Linked DNA regions of Homo sapiens: region 1 is linked to region 2. The links are contacts of gene promoters, found by promoter capture Hi-C in blood cells and fetal thymus (Javierre and others, 2016). All regions are on one chromosome and are shown on one strand. Each heading gives the region's core, a stretch centred on a gene start or on the middle of the fragment in contact. The rest is flanking DNA. Distances are from core to core; before and after follow the strand shown. Region 1 overlaps FCRL1 (Fc receptor like 1). Region 2 holds the start of FCRL4 (Fc receptor like 4).

What was found. Contacts are between HindIII fragments. The CHiCAGO score rates a contact against its expected background, and 5 or more counts as called.
Region 1: a contact is called between a fragment that was not itself captured here and the fragment with the promoter of FCRL4 in region 2, in 1 of 17 cell types (total B cells). The highest score is 5.3, in total B cells.

What each region holds. Positions count from the first base shown.
Region 1 is chr1:157,806,245-157,814,090 of GRCh38, reverse strand. It overlaps FCRL1 (Fc receptor like 1), which reads left to right. Exons shown (of 11, transcript NM_052938.5): 2 at 6,969-6,989. Among named protein-coding and RNA genes, the nearest start is that of FCRL1, 10 kb to the left of the region's middle. RefSeq lists enhancers at 7,382-7,431, 7,462-7,521. The HindIII fragment of the contact is 1,141 bases long and covers 4,945-6,085 here.
Region 2 is chr1:157,593,267-157,600,007 of GRCh38, reverse strand. It overlaps FCRL4 (Fc receptor like 4), which reads left to right and starts at 1,923. Exons shown (of 12, transcript NM_031282.3): 1 at 1,923-2,094; 2 at 3,660-3,680. The coding sequence starts at 2,064. The HindIII fragment of the contact is 1,174 bases long and covers 783-1,956 here.

The DNA.
Region 1 (7,846 bases), core at 4,266-6,765, 210 kb before region 2:
ACTCTCTTATGCAGTTACTTTAAGGCTTGTCTAGTGGTCTTGAATTCCATCAGCTTTTGCTTGTGTGGGTGAGAGTTTATCTCTCCTTCATTTCTGAAAGACAGCTTTTCTGTGTATAGTATTCTTGCTGAAAGTTTTCTTCTTTCAGCACTTTGAATATATCATCTTATTCTTTCCTGGCCTGCATGATTTCTGGTGATAGATCTGATGATACTCTTATAGAAATTCTCTTATGTATGACTTGATGTTTTTGCTGTGTTTAGAATTCTCTTTGTATTTGACCTTTAACAATTTGATTATAATGACCTTGGAGAGGACCTCTTCAGGTTAAATCTATTTGGGGATTTTTGAGCTTCATGGATTTGGTTGTTCATATCCATCCCAAGACTTGAGTCGTTTTCAGCTACTATTTTATCAAATATGCTTTCCAAAACCTTCTCTATATCTTTTTCTGCTAGTACTCTAATAATACAAATATTTGCCCACTTAATGGTGTCCCATAAGTCCTGTAGGCTTTCTTCACTTTCGAAAAAAAATTTTCCTCAGCTAACTGGGTTATTTCAAAAGATCTATATTCAAGTTTAGAAATTCTTCTTCTTTATCTGGTTTGCTGTTGAAACTCTCAATTGTAATTTTTATTTCATGCATTTAATTCTTTAGCTCTATGAATTCTGTTTGGATTATTTTCATGATATCTATATGTTTTCAAATTTCCTGTTTAGGTCATAAATTGTTTTCCAGATTTTATTGAACTTTTCATCTGTATTCTCTTATAAGTGAGTTTCCTTAAGATTATAATTTTGAATTTTTTAGGCAATTAATAAATCTCCAGTTAGTTATTGGAAAATTATTTTGTTCTTGTATTGGTGTCATGTTTTCTCGCTTTTTCATGTTTGTTGTGTTCCTGCTTTACCATTTGTGCATCTGGTGGAAGAGTCACCTTTTTCAATTTTATAGAGTGGCTTTTGTAAGAAAAGACTTTCACCTGCAGATTGATCCTAGGGTGCCGATGGATCCTTAGTTTAGGAAGTTTCATTGGTTTGGTTCCAGGTGAGCATAGTAGTGTGGTCTCTGTGTAACTTCTTCAGCAGCAATCAATGTCAGCAATGCTTGTGTGTGCCTCAGTGGCCTAGGCTGTAGGAGTTTGTGAGGGTGGTGGTGGCAAGATAGATTGCTACAGTTCTCAGTGGCAAGAGCTTTAGGGATCTTCCTGTTCTTTTCCTCATAGACCATCATACCTGAGAGGGTGTCTTTTGGTGTTTGGCCCTGGCATGGGTCACAGGCAGGCATGGTAGTACTATGTTCCAGGGCACAGATGCTTGAGGTGGTTGTGGTCCTGCACTCAGTGTCCTGCACACAGTGCCACTACTATGGCATCTGTGCCTGGATGCAGGTTCATTGTCTTAGGTATAGATGGACACAGCTCTTCCACCAAGACAAAGAATGTGACTCTGAAGCACTCCCCAGTATCTCAGGCCCAACAGGCAAGGTTGTACCTGTGACTTTGATCCTGGGGGTCAAGATACAGCACTATCATGGCTCTAAGGATAAAGGGCTTTCCAAAGGCTCAGATACTGGGAAGCAGATCACAACTACAAATCAAATCCCAGAGTCAATGAGACACAGGGGCAACTTAGGCACCAGGAGAGAGTGTATTACATACTGGTGACTCTGGACCCTGGAGTGGTGGGACACAGTAGTGGCCCCTGCTCTGTGATGCCAGGTGTAGTGACCGGAAAGACCCTGGAATGGTGATAGGATGCAGTTGTGGCTTTGGCTCTGGAGAGCAGGGAACAGTGCAATATTGGGTTCACTCCCCAATATCACACCATCACACCAAGGAAATGGTGTGCCTCAGCAGCTCAGGCTTCAGAGGGCTAGTCCAGATTCAGGCAGGACACTTAGGCTGTTTGGCTGAGAAGGGCAGAGTAATACAGATTGGCAGGTGCTGTGTTTCCCCAGGGGTGAGGTGCCAGGCTGGTTTTCACACCAAGGGAGCATGCAGTTGGTCTGCTGGCTCAGCTGTGGCTTCCCTAGGGGCAGGATGCCTGACTGGGTCATATGCCAAGGAGGCAGGCACATGGCTGGTCTTCTGGATAAGGCTTGACTTCTCCACTGGGCAGGACAGCCTGTTCCTTGGCAGGGCAGAGTGTCATGTGGACTCAAGTGACAGGATCACAGCTGTCCCCCTGAGCCTAGGTTTTGAGTCCCTGGGGTTGGGGCACTGAAGCCACTAGGATGGAGAAAATGGAGTGATTCCTAGACAGCTTGTTCCCATGGATTAGGAAGCAGGGAAGCTTGGCTAGCAAATGGTGTACTACTGTGTGTAAGCATGATGCAAGGATGGTGAAGCCTCAAGGATGAAAAGATGCAGTGACTACTGCCCCCAGGAACAGAACACACTCTAGTAGTTGCTCTAGTTTCAAGATGGTGCTGTGCAGTAGTAGCTTGGGTCATGGGATGGGAGGAGCCACAGTATGGGCTCTTACTCTAGAATAATGCAGCCATATGAACTCCAGGCAGCTTCCAAAACTGGACTTAGGTCCTGTGAGAACTGCAGGATTCTCCAGCAACAAAGACTGCTGGTGTCCACAGATATAATGGGGGCTTCTGGGGACTTCTTTACCTTTTGTTTTCAGGGAAAAGCCCCTCCTAGGCTTGAATCCCAGCCTGCATTCCAAGCTGATCCTGACTGAGGAGACAGAGTTGCAGAGGCAGGTTGCAGGGTTCCATTCCCTTCTTTATGTAGCCATCCTGAGTTTCTGTGATCCACAAGATTTCTGCCATTCCCCTGCTGTACTTCAGTGCTCTCCTTTAGACACTCCAGTCAAAATGTAGTTGTTTCCTTATTGTTTCAGTCTTTTTTTAGGCGGGGAGGAGGATGAGTAATAGACACCTCTAGTCAGCCATCTTGCCGACATCACCGACAATGTCTTTTCTCTTAAAATAATAGAAATATGGCTTCCATTTACTACACAAGTTTTCTGTTTCCCTTTATAAAGTTTTCAGTGCACCAGGTGTGGTGGCTCATGCTATAATCTCAGCACTTTGGGAGGTTGAGGCGGGAGGATCGCTTGACATCAGGTGTTTCAGACCAGCCTGGGCAACATAGCAAAATCTTGTCTCTACAAAAAATAAAAAATAAATAATTATCCTGGCATTGTGGCACATGCCTGTAGTCCCAGCTACTTGGGAGGCTGAGGTAAGAGGATCACTTGAGCCCAGGAGGTTAAGGCTGCAGTGATCTGACCTCCAGCCTGGGTGACAGAGCAAGATCCTGTCTCAAAAAAGTAAAATAAAACAAAAAGTTTTCAGTGAATTGCTGTCTTTGCTTCACTTCCTTTCATTCTTTATTTAATATTTATTTTTAATTTACATTACATTAAGATTTACTTTTTTGAAAGACTGTCTATAATTTTTGACAAAGATTTAGATCCATATAACCACCAGCAGAATCAAAATACAGGACATTTTCATCCCTTCAAAAATTTCCCGGCTGGGTGCAGTGGCTCACGACTGTAATCCCAGCACTTGGGGAGGCCGAGGTGGGTGGATCACCTGAGGTCAGGAGTATAAGACCAGCCTGGCCAACATGGTGAAACCCCATCTCTACTAAAAATACAAAAATTAGCCAGGCGAGGTGGTGCAAGCCTGTAGTCCTAGCTACTCAGGAGGCTGAGGCAGGAGAATTGCATGAACTTGTGAGGTAGAGGTTGCAATGAGCCAAGATCATGCCACTGCATTCCAGCCTGGGTGGCAGAAAGAGACTCTGTCTTAAAAAAAAAAAAAAGAAAAAAGAAAAAGAAATTTACTTATGCCCTCACTCCCTTTTATGGTCAAATCTTCTCCCATTCCTAACCCCTGGTAAACTCATTTAAGTCCTTACACTTCTTCCTCATTCTTCCTTGAACCCACTTAAATCAATCTTTCATCCTTACCACTCCATTGAAACTGTTCTTGCACATAGCATCAACCATCTTCATGTTGCTGCATCAAGGGGTCAATTTTAATTTTTTATTTTACTCAATTTCTCAGGGGCATTTGATCACTCTTTATTTTTTGAAACACTTTTAATTTGGCTTCTGGAATATCATATTCTGCTGGCTTTCTTTCTAATTCAGTATCTGCTACTTTTCAGTTTCTTTGCTAAATTATTTAATTTTTTTAGAGTCAGGGTCTTACTCTGTTGCCCCAGCTGAAGTGCAGTGGTATGGTCATGGCTCATTGCAACCTTGAATTCCTGGTCTCAAGTGATGCACCTGCCTCAGCTCCCTGAGTAGCTGGAACCAGAGACACATGCAACCACACTCAGCTAATTAAAACAATTTTTTGACCAGGTATGGTGGCTCATGTCTGTAATCCCAGGACTTTGGGAGGCCAAGGTGGGTGGATCACCTGAGGTCAGGAGTTCAGACCAAGCTGACCAACATGATGAAACCCAGTCTCTACTAAAGAAAAAAAAAATACAAAATTAGCTGGGTGTGGTGGCTGGCACATGCCTGTAATCCCAGCTACTTAGGAGGCTGAGGCAGGAGAATCGCTTGAACCCGAGAGGTGGAGGATGCAGTGAGCCAAGATTGTGCCATTGCACTCTAGTTTGGGCAAGAAGAGTGAAACTCCATCTCCCCCAAATCATTTGTGGTTTTTTTTGTTTGTTTTTGTTTTTGTTTTTGTTTTTTACAAACAGGGTTTTTTTTTAAATTAATTAATTTATTTTTTGCCACCCAGGCTTATCTCAAACTTCTGGCCCCCATCAATCCTCCCACCTCAGCCTTCCAAAGTGTTGGGATTACAGTCATAAGCCACTGCATCTGGCTTGGATCTTTTGCTGACCTCAAAATGTTGGACATCCTCAAAGTTGATACCTAGACTTCATCCATACTCACTTCCCCAAATTATATAATTATGTCACTTCATGTGCCACTTTAAGCTTAAATGCAAGCTTATTTCTCCAGCTTTCACCTCTCTTTTAAATACCTCTTATGTACTTAACTGCATTCGGGTATCTAATAGACATCTTAATAAACATCTTAAACTTAACATCAGGTGTTTAACAGGCATCTTAAACTCAAACAGATCTCTTGATCTTCCACCTGTACTACCACCACCACAAAACTTAACCTATTTTCCCCCACAACTTCTCCAATTCAGGAAATGTCACTACCATTCTTCCAGTTGCTGTGGCCAAAAATCTAAGAGTCATACTTAATTCCCCTCTCTCTCCTTTTGCACTTTCTATTTAATCCATAAGCAATTCCTATTAATTCTACTTTCAGAATTTATACTAAAGTCTGACCACTTCATATCACCAGCACTGTCTAATCTTAGCCACTATCTTTACTCTCCTACACTAAATTCCCACTAACGTTCTCCCTGCTTTTCTTTCACTTCTATACTGCTTTCCTCACAGTGTCTGAGTGATATTGTAAATTAAGTAAGAATTGTCCATAGCTCCCCATCACACCTAGAATGAAATCCAAAACTATTGCCAAGTCCATAAAGTGCCCATGACTGGATCCTTCCTATTTCTCAGACACCGATAACTAACCCCTGCCCCCTTACTTGGTCAGCTCCAGGTGCCCTTGCCTTCTCATTCCTCCTTGTACAAGCGTATTTCCTCCTCAGGATACTTGCATTCGATGTTTTCTCTGCCAGGGATGCTCTTTCCCAAATATTCAGAAGGCTTGTTTCCTGATTTCATTTAGGTTTTTACTGAATCTATCTAAATCTATCTAAACAGTTAAGACCATCTTAAGATGCTCTGTATCTTATTTCTCTGCTTTATTTTTCTTAGAGAACCAATCACCCTCTGAAAGAATATTATATACTTATTTTTAAATTGGCTCTCTACCACTATAATATGAATTTCTTGACATCAAAGATTGTCATTCATGTTTACTCCCATCACTCCAGGGCCATGCACAACGTCTGGCATACAGTGAGCACTTCAAATTATTTGCTGTATGGACAAGTGTATGGAATATGATTTTATGCTCTCTCCTATTGACACTTTTCTCCTACCTAAGGAACTAATTATTCAAGTAAACATTTAACCTAAGAAAAAGTAAGTATCTCAAACCAAGCTTGGCTAAAATAAATAATAGTAATGACACAATATTTACTGAATAAGTAAATTCCAGGCACTAGTCTAAGCTCCTTAATCTTCACAAAAACTCTGTGAGGTAGGTACCACAATTATCTACACTTTACCGACAAGGAAACTAAAGCACAGAGAGGTGAAACATTTCTCCCACAGTCACACAGCTTGTAAGAGGAAGAGCCAGTACTCAAATCTGTGTCATCCAGCTACAAAGCCTCCATTTTCCCCAGAATTATTTTTTCTTGATCATTGAGCCATAATATTATGGTCAAGTCCTTGGGATAGAAGAGAATTTTTGGAGAAATTTGAATTCCTTTTCTGGACCTAAGCCTCCTCTGATCTGAAATTGGTAAACAAAGGGTCTCTATGCCTTGAGTATGAGGCTGTGCACTCTCCTTGCCTGACTCTGTTGTTCCCTTGAGAGAGTCAATCCAAAGCTGGATCCTCAAGACTTTTGAAAGGAGGCGGTGGGAATGGGAATGAGGAGCTTGAAGAAGGAGCTGCTAAGTAGTTAGCAAAGATGCCACCTCCTAGTCACAGACAACACAAGTCATTGGCAATTACTTTGTGATCATAAAAAAGAACGATGTGTTGTTCTGTGGGCAGGTGCTCTGTGGGTGATGCAGAATATGGGAAAAGGAGCAGAGAGAAAGAAGAAAAGAAGCAGGGGTAAGATAAGGAGGGAGGAAGAGAAGATGAAAGAAGGAAGGGGAGAAGAGAGAAAGAGGGAAAGAGGGAGGAAGAGAGAGATGCAGGGAGGGTCCAGGGGATGGAGGGTGTGGTGTTGGGGAAGCTCTCAAAGGATTTAAACTTTGGAGATTTGTGGGATTTGCTGCTCTGTACTGATCTCTGCTGAATTCTCTCCCAGCTCCACTCTGTGAACCTGCCGGTGAGTTGCACTTCCTTTTCTTCTTCAAGGTCTGTGGGTATTTTGTTACTTAGGTCAGCACAGGAGGCCTGCAGATTGCTGTCTTAGCAGCCCCTTCCTGCCCAAAACATATCAGGGTGACAGCTGCTGAGGTGTACAAACATCAGTGGCTCCCTTGGGCCTGGGCTGCTCTGTCTTCACATCAGTCTCTGCACCTGACACGTGTCTGCTCAGTGGGGTGAACAGGTCTTGCTCTGACCTTCTCAAGAACACAGTCTTACTTCCGGGAAGTCCCAGCACAGGGAGGGAGACACTGTTTGCACAAGGAAGGCAAAGGGTGCTGAAGATTCATGCTAGAAGCATCTCTGTCCTCCCAGCCTCAGGAGCTCCAATTCCCAGTTGTGCTTCTCAGCTGGGTGTGTCACCATGGGTGATGAAGGAAATGCCAAAATCACACATCCACGGAGAACATTAGAGAGAATCCTCCAGACATGTGTGGAATGAAGTAGTACTGCTGCCTCCTTCCTATTTTTAGCTCTCCTCTGCAGCCACACCTGTTACCCCAGCTCATTTTCTCTTTCGGACTCTGGTTTATGCAAACTTACTTCATTGCACTGGTCCTGATTCAAAGTCTTACCTTTACCAAAGAAGGAGAGTAAGCAATCCCTTTCCCCACGAAGGACTCTTCACTAGATCAAGCTCAATGATAAAATGTAAAAATTGCTATCTTGTGCAGAAAATACTAGCCACAGAGTTAAAAGAGATTGTCCTGCCACCTCAAGAACATCGGCTGCAAGTGCAAGTAGGGAACACAAGTTCCCAAGTTCCCTAGGAATTCCTGTGACCAGAAAGATTCAGAGAGATTCAGGGTCAATCTA
Region 2 (6,741 bases), core at 674-3,173:
AGAGTTCTATGTCATTAATGTATTCATACAAACATCAATAACAACATCCACTTCAGCTGGACATTATTTTTATCTCCTTTTTACCAGTGTGAAAGAGGCTAAGTACTTGACCAGAGTCACCCAACTAGCAAGAGGTGAAGTCAAGATTTCATCCAGATGTGTGGGATTCTGCAGATCAGGTTCTTGACTGCCATTTTATACCCTTGCTCCTCCTGGGACAAATGAAGGCAGCTGAAAGATGACAGCACGGTCACACGGCAAGGAGACAAAGGACCCATGTGCCGCCTTGACAGCTCTATGTCTTTATGGTTCCTTGTGTCTATGTCTACTCTGGCCCTTACCACATTGACTTTTTTAAAGTCTTTAAGAGAGATGCACTTTATTCACCTTTTTATTCTTCTAAGGCCATGGACATTGTCTAAAATATAGTTGATGTTCAATACAAACCCTAGTTAGAAAATAAATTATTACAGATATATAGAAAAACATTATATTAGAAAAATACAGACCACTCTTAATCCATCCTATGTCTATTATCTATTCACAGATATCTTGATGTGATGGTGATGGTCACGATAACTGCCTTCCATCTTAGTGCATGCTCATCTCTCAGTCCTAGAATGATATTCTTTCAGCTTGGATGTTACTTCCTCAGGGAAGCCTCTTATGCATCCCCAGAACTGGGTCAGATTTCCCTCTTAGTGGACTCTCAGAAATTACATACAATTCACTTCTATGTAATTTCCTGTTGACTTGCTGTCTTCTCCACCAGAATGAAAGCTTTCCAAGTCTTGATTAACACTGTACTTCCAGCACCTGGCACCATACCTGAAGCACCATGGTGTTTCTTTTTTTTTGCCATTAACATTTTATATATATATATATATATATATATATATATATATATATATATACACATACATATACACAAGATAATAGCATAAAAAAGTTTTAAAGAGTTATACATACCAAAATATTATACGTACCAAAAAACGTCACTACGGATTTTTCCATTTTTTTCTTAATTTTTTTTTTAAGTTCTGGGATACATGAGCAGAGTGTGCAGGTTTGTTATGGGTAGGGAGAGCATTAGGTGTTTCTCAAAACACCAAACAGCATGTTGCCCAGTGTGAAAGAATCCAAATGGCAAAAATCAAAATTTAATAGAATTATTTAAATACCCACTCTGACTTCCTGACGTGAATCGCTTCTCAAGGCTAAAGCCATCATATTTTCAGAACTCTCTAGCCTCTTGTCTTTCAAGGAAATCACAACTTCTTCTCTCTGCCACCAGATACCAGGCATATGTATTTCAATCAATATATATTTGCCAAGACATTCCTGTAGCAAATTTTGGATTCTAGGACATTAAGTAAAAATGTTATGGCCTATTATCTAGGAAGAGCATGATGGGGCTATAATTTACTCCTCAGCTTGCCTTCTACTCAGATCAAAAGTTGTGGTTTCCCCCTGGACTGATGAGTCAGGATATTTTCATATATATCAGACAAGGTGAGAGTTGTCTTGTGATTGAGATGTTTCATCAGGTCTACAGACGGCCTGCTGGAGGTGTTCCAGTAGAGGTATCAGCGGTCAGAGGAGGCCTTTTCTGTGTTGAATGAGAAATTCTTCATCTCTGGGGATATTCAGGGACATCCTTAGATTATGTGGATTTCAATAGGCCTGCAATCTCACCTCATCTCTAGTAGCAGAGAGAATAGGTTGTGATTTCCTTGAAAGACAGAGCCTAGAGAGTTCTGAAACTAGAGTAGCTTTAGCCTTGAGAAGTGATTCACCCCAGGATGTCACAGCAGTACTTAATTCTATTAAATTTTGATTTTTGTGGTCTGGATTCTCTCACACTGGTCCACATTGCTGTTTGGTGTTTTCAGAAAGATTCCTCTACTTCCCCCTTTCACTTCATTATCTCAATCAGCTTTATGCAGAGAAGAAGCTTACTGAGCTCACTGCTGGTGCTGGTGTAGGCAAGTGCTGCTTTGGCAATCTGGGCTGACCTGGCTTGTCTCCTCAGAACTCCTTCTCCAATCCTGGAGCAGGCTTCCATGCTGCTGTGGGCGTCCTTGCTGGCCTTTGGTAAGTGATGGGGAGGAGACCTTTGCTTGCTGCAAAGCTGAGCCTCACCATGAGCAAAAGCCCTCTTTTCTGCTGCTGCAATCATGGATTTTTACTCCCATTTTAGAACAGCAGAAAATGAACAAAAAGGAAAGATAATGATTTACTGGTAGAAGGGGAAAATGATAATAATTGATTTCCAAAGATGTATTTCTCATCTATTTTTGCTATGAATTGCCTATGGAAAATCATTTTACCCCCAAATGGACTTATTTTGTTTATGCAAAAAGAAACCTATGGCTAGGTTCAGTCCCTACGTCACAGAGCATGAGGACCCAGAGGAAAAGATGGACTGAGTTATTTGTGAAGGATAAAGTCCTGATTGTGAACTCAGGTAGAAAGGATCACCTGCTGAGAATAGTTATTTCCTTCTCTGTATTCTAAGTTCAAACCTGTTCTGATGTTTGCAAAGAGCATGAGAAGAGAAGAGATAAGATGATTTCCCTTTGATTTTTTTCTTCCTGCTTTTGTACCACTTGTCAGTGTTTGTCCAAATGAGGCACGGATTTCCTAGTTGCTCAAACTAGGGAATTAAAGAACAGTCAGTCTTTTGTTCATTAAATATTTATTAAGCGTATTTGTCTAGTTCCCACCTGATCCCCAGACCCCAACTAAGGGAAGACCTATTAGTGTGATTGGCACATGATAGGAACTAAGGAGTGAGTGGATGGGTATACTTGGCATGCCACACTGCTGGGCACCACAGAGGATGCAGAGACCTGAAGGACACAGATTCTGCCCTCAAGAGGTGACATTCTCAATAGAACCTCAACGTACACATGCAAGAACATCTGACTCGACAATATGAGAAAAATATTACACAAATAGTTACAGGATAATGTGTGAGGATGTCAGTTAATTTGTGCTAAGCCCTGGCTACATCCCACTTTTCTAAGGGCACCCCATGTATAAATGTATCCAATTCTCTAACATTTGATCAGGTGGAACTTTTATAACTCCCATTTACAAATGAGGAAATGAAGGCACAAAGATGTTGGTCTTGTCCCTGAGGTTTATGCAGCTAGTACAGTGGCAGAGTCAGGATTCGAACCCATAATCTAACTTTGGAAACTAGGCTTTTAACTACTACCCTCTACTGTCTGTCTCATTTTGAGTTCCAAATTAGCTATGATAATAAGTGTTCTGAGTCAAGAGAAGAGGAATCAGCAGCAGCCCCATACTAAAAAATTAATGACAGCAGCCATTAATTGAAACCTTACTGATCTAACTCATTACAGTATTACTATGAGGTCGCTTTCATGAGCCTCATTTTTCAAATGAGAAAACTGAGACTTGAAAGTTCATGTGGTTTGCCCTGGGTCATACAGCTAAAATTCAAACCAGACTGTCTGAGTCCACAGCCTGAGCGTCTGGCCACTGTGTTTCCCCGCTTCCCTGGGATGGATGGAATGGAACGTGTTTCTCTTCCTCTTGGTTGGAAGTAGCATATGAGTGTATGGGCTCTCAGGGTGAATAGTTCGGGACTCTTCGCCTACGCTGATGGCTGGCTCTTTACTCTCTTTCAGCTCCAGTCTGTGGACAATCTGGTAAGTCCTTATTTTCTTTGCTCCTTTATGTCTCTAGATACCCTAATAACTATATTTTATCTCAAATACTTACAAGAGTCCCTGTTGTCCATTTCATCCTTTTCCTGAGTGCTGCAGGGATGTAGAGACATCAGCTCGTGTGGTGACTCTGACCCTAAGAACCAGGCTATTTGGGGGTGACTCTCTTAAACCAAAACTGCCATTGTGCTGGCTAAACATGGCAGGGCCTGGGATATGTGTCACAGCGTCCACAGGAAGAGGAGCTGTCACCCCGCCTGATGTGGGATTCTAGCCAAGCCTGATGGAATGCATAGCATCCCAAGAGGAAAAGGGTAGAAATAAGCCAATACTTCAGAGGGGGAGGCTGGGGCTCCAGCAGCTTTTCCACTAACCATGTGTAACAAATTTATCCCCAACTTCTGCATCCCATGGAGACACACTTCTCTGTTAATAGCTCAAATTATGATGACTCTGAGTCTCCATCTATCCTACTGGTCAGCAAAAAGTCCCATCCTCTATAGGCAGCTGCCTCACAGGTGTTTTGGCCATTCCTATAGAGCACCCTAGGAGCTGCTGGAGCCAGCAAGGGCCTTGGCCCCCTTGAGGTGCACTGTCTCTTGCAGCTCCTAACTCTGCTGTTCTTCCCCTCCTCGGTGCCTTGGACACAGACTATTTCCCACACACCCTTCCTGAGACAAGATTATAACTTGGCAGACTTTGCTAATGGTTCTAGAATGGGGAAATGAAATACAAAAAGTGCCTTGAATTAACTGCAGCTAGGGATGTGGTTAACCTCAGAGCCCATCAACTCAGTCTCAAACACACGAAGGCCATGAAAAGTTATGTCCCTTCCTGGCCATAGGGCCACCTGCACATAGCAGGGGCAGCTTCCTCAGAGCAAAGAAGAGTCTAGTTGCATACATCAAAGGAAATCAACTCTCCTTCCCTCCAGTAGAAGACCTATTGCCTAAGTCCCAATGGCCCTGCATCCAGGTGCTTCCCAGGAATATAGCTGGTAGGGTTTTCTATTCTCTTCAGCAGAAACACAGCCCCATTCCCACTGATGACATAGAGTATTCTGTCCAAACCTTTAAAGACAGAATTTTCTTTTTAAAAAGTGTCTGCAGAGGCTGGGCACAGTGGCTCATGCCTGTAATCCCAGCACTTCGGGAGGCTGAGGTGGGTGGATCACTTGACGTCAGGAGCTCAAGACCAGCCTGGACAACATGGTGAAACCTCATCTCTACTGAAAATACAAAAAATTAGCCGGTTGTGGTGGCACATGCCTGTAATCCCAGTTACTCAGGAGGCTGGGGCAGGAGAATCACTTGAACCCAGGAGGTGGAGGTTGCAATGAGCTGAGATCAGGCCACTGCAGTCCAGCCTGGGCAAGAGTAAGACTCTATCTGAAAAATAAAATAAAATAAATTCTGCAGAGACACAGAGATGTTTCACCTTACCAAACAGAACATTTAGCTTCTTCATGTAAAACATGCAGTTGGGTTATTTTACAATTTTCTTTTTCCCCTCAAACAGAGGAAGGGCATTTTCTTCACATTTAGATGTAACTAAAAGATCTATTTGGGAAGTTCTTCTGGGCAAAGGCAAGAATGTTTAAAGTTTTAAGCTTTAAAAAAGTAATTGCCTGAAAATCTTTAAATGTAGACAGTCCTCATCTGAGTAAAAAAGGTTCCAAGGAGAAAATAATTTATTCTATTAAAAATTTCATAGTAAATAGCAATCCCCAAAATTGAGATTTTATTTTTGAAAATTAATACAAATGAAAACAATTTGTTTTATTTTCTACTTCACAGAAGTTACATTACCACAGGCAATTTGTAGGGCAAAGCATGAATCTAATATTGACTTTTCAAAATGTGGTAGCTGCCACAGCTCCAGGCATCATGACTTTGTTCAAGGCAGAAAATGGGGAGAAGTAGGGAGACAGGTGGAGAAGGGAAGTGAAGCTGTCAAAGAGCACCCAGTGTGCATCTCTTCTTTCAAATAAAGGAAGAAGATTTTCCCAGAATCCCTATTCCCTAGTCCATCCCTAGCATTATTTCTCTGACATCCCTTTATTCAGACCTGGATCATGTAGGTGGGAAAGTTAATACTTCATTTTTTCAAACACATTAGTGGGCAGAAGGTTAGAGAGAAGAGCATTGGGACTGACTTTTGAGAGCCAAACAAGTGTTTTCCCTATTATAGATTTCTCCTTCATAATCGTTAATAGGTCTTGCTCTGCCATACTCTTTAGTGATTTTATGACTCATCAGAGCAGTGGTTCCACATAACTTTTACCGAGTTTATAAATTACTGCATCTTCAACAGAATCTAAAATAGCAATCAATTTTCATTTGTACACCCATTGAAAGATTAGCCTACCAAAGCACTTATCTTGGAGAAGGCTAGATAGTAGTATTATATTGGTAAGGACGTTTGAGTGAATGTTTCTAATAGTGAATAATTTGTGTTGTAGTTACTTTTGTTGTTAGCCGGCACAAAGTCAGAACTACAAAACTCAGAAAATAAACATTCAGATTAAAAAGAGCCTCGGAAACAGTTTCTTCTTAGAAGATATATAATTAAAAACAAAATCTCCTCCCAGCTCAGAAATCTTCTCTACAACGGTAGTAGAGAAAGTAGGTATTATTGAACAACAATAAGCCAGAATATGATGAGCATCACAGACAACCCACTAAGAAGCTGCAAAGTCAGAAAGGAATTCCACCCCCTCATACAGCCAATTAGATACAGCCCATGCATACATGTTTTCAAGATAAACAATAACTAGGCCTCAAGTAAGAGGGCCTGACAGCAACTTTTCTTCTACTAGTTCATCTTAACTTTATCCTGGTAACTGGCGAGACAACCTGTCTTAAGTAACTGAAGGGAAACAAACTTCTGTCTTTACAACAGCAGGTAGTTTAGCACATTGGAGAAAGCTGAGCCCACCAAAGTTAGGTCCTTACTCTCCCACAGGAACTGAGAGAGACGGAGGAACTATCTCTCTAGATGTTTGTATTCAAAAAGGTGGTTCCCAGGACTTCCCTGGGTTGTG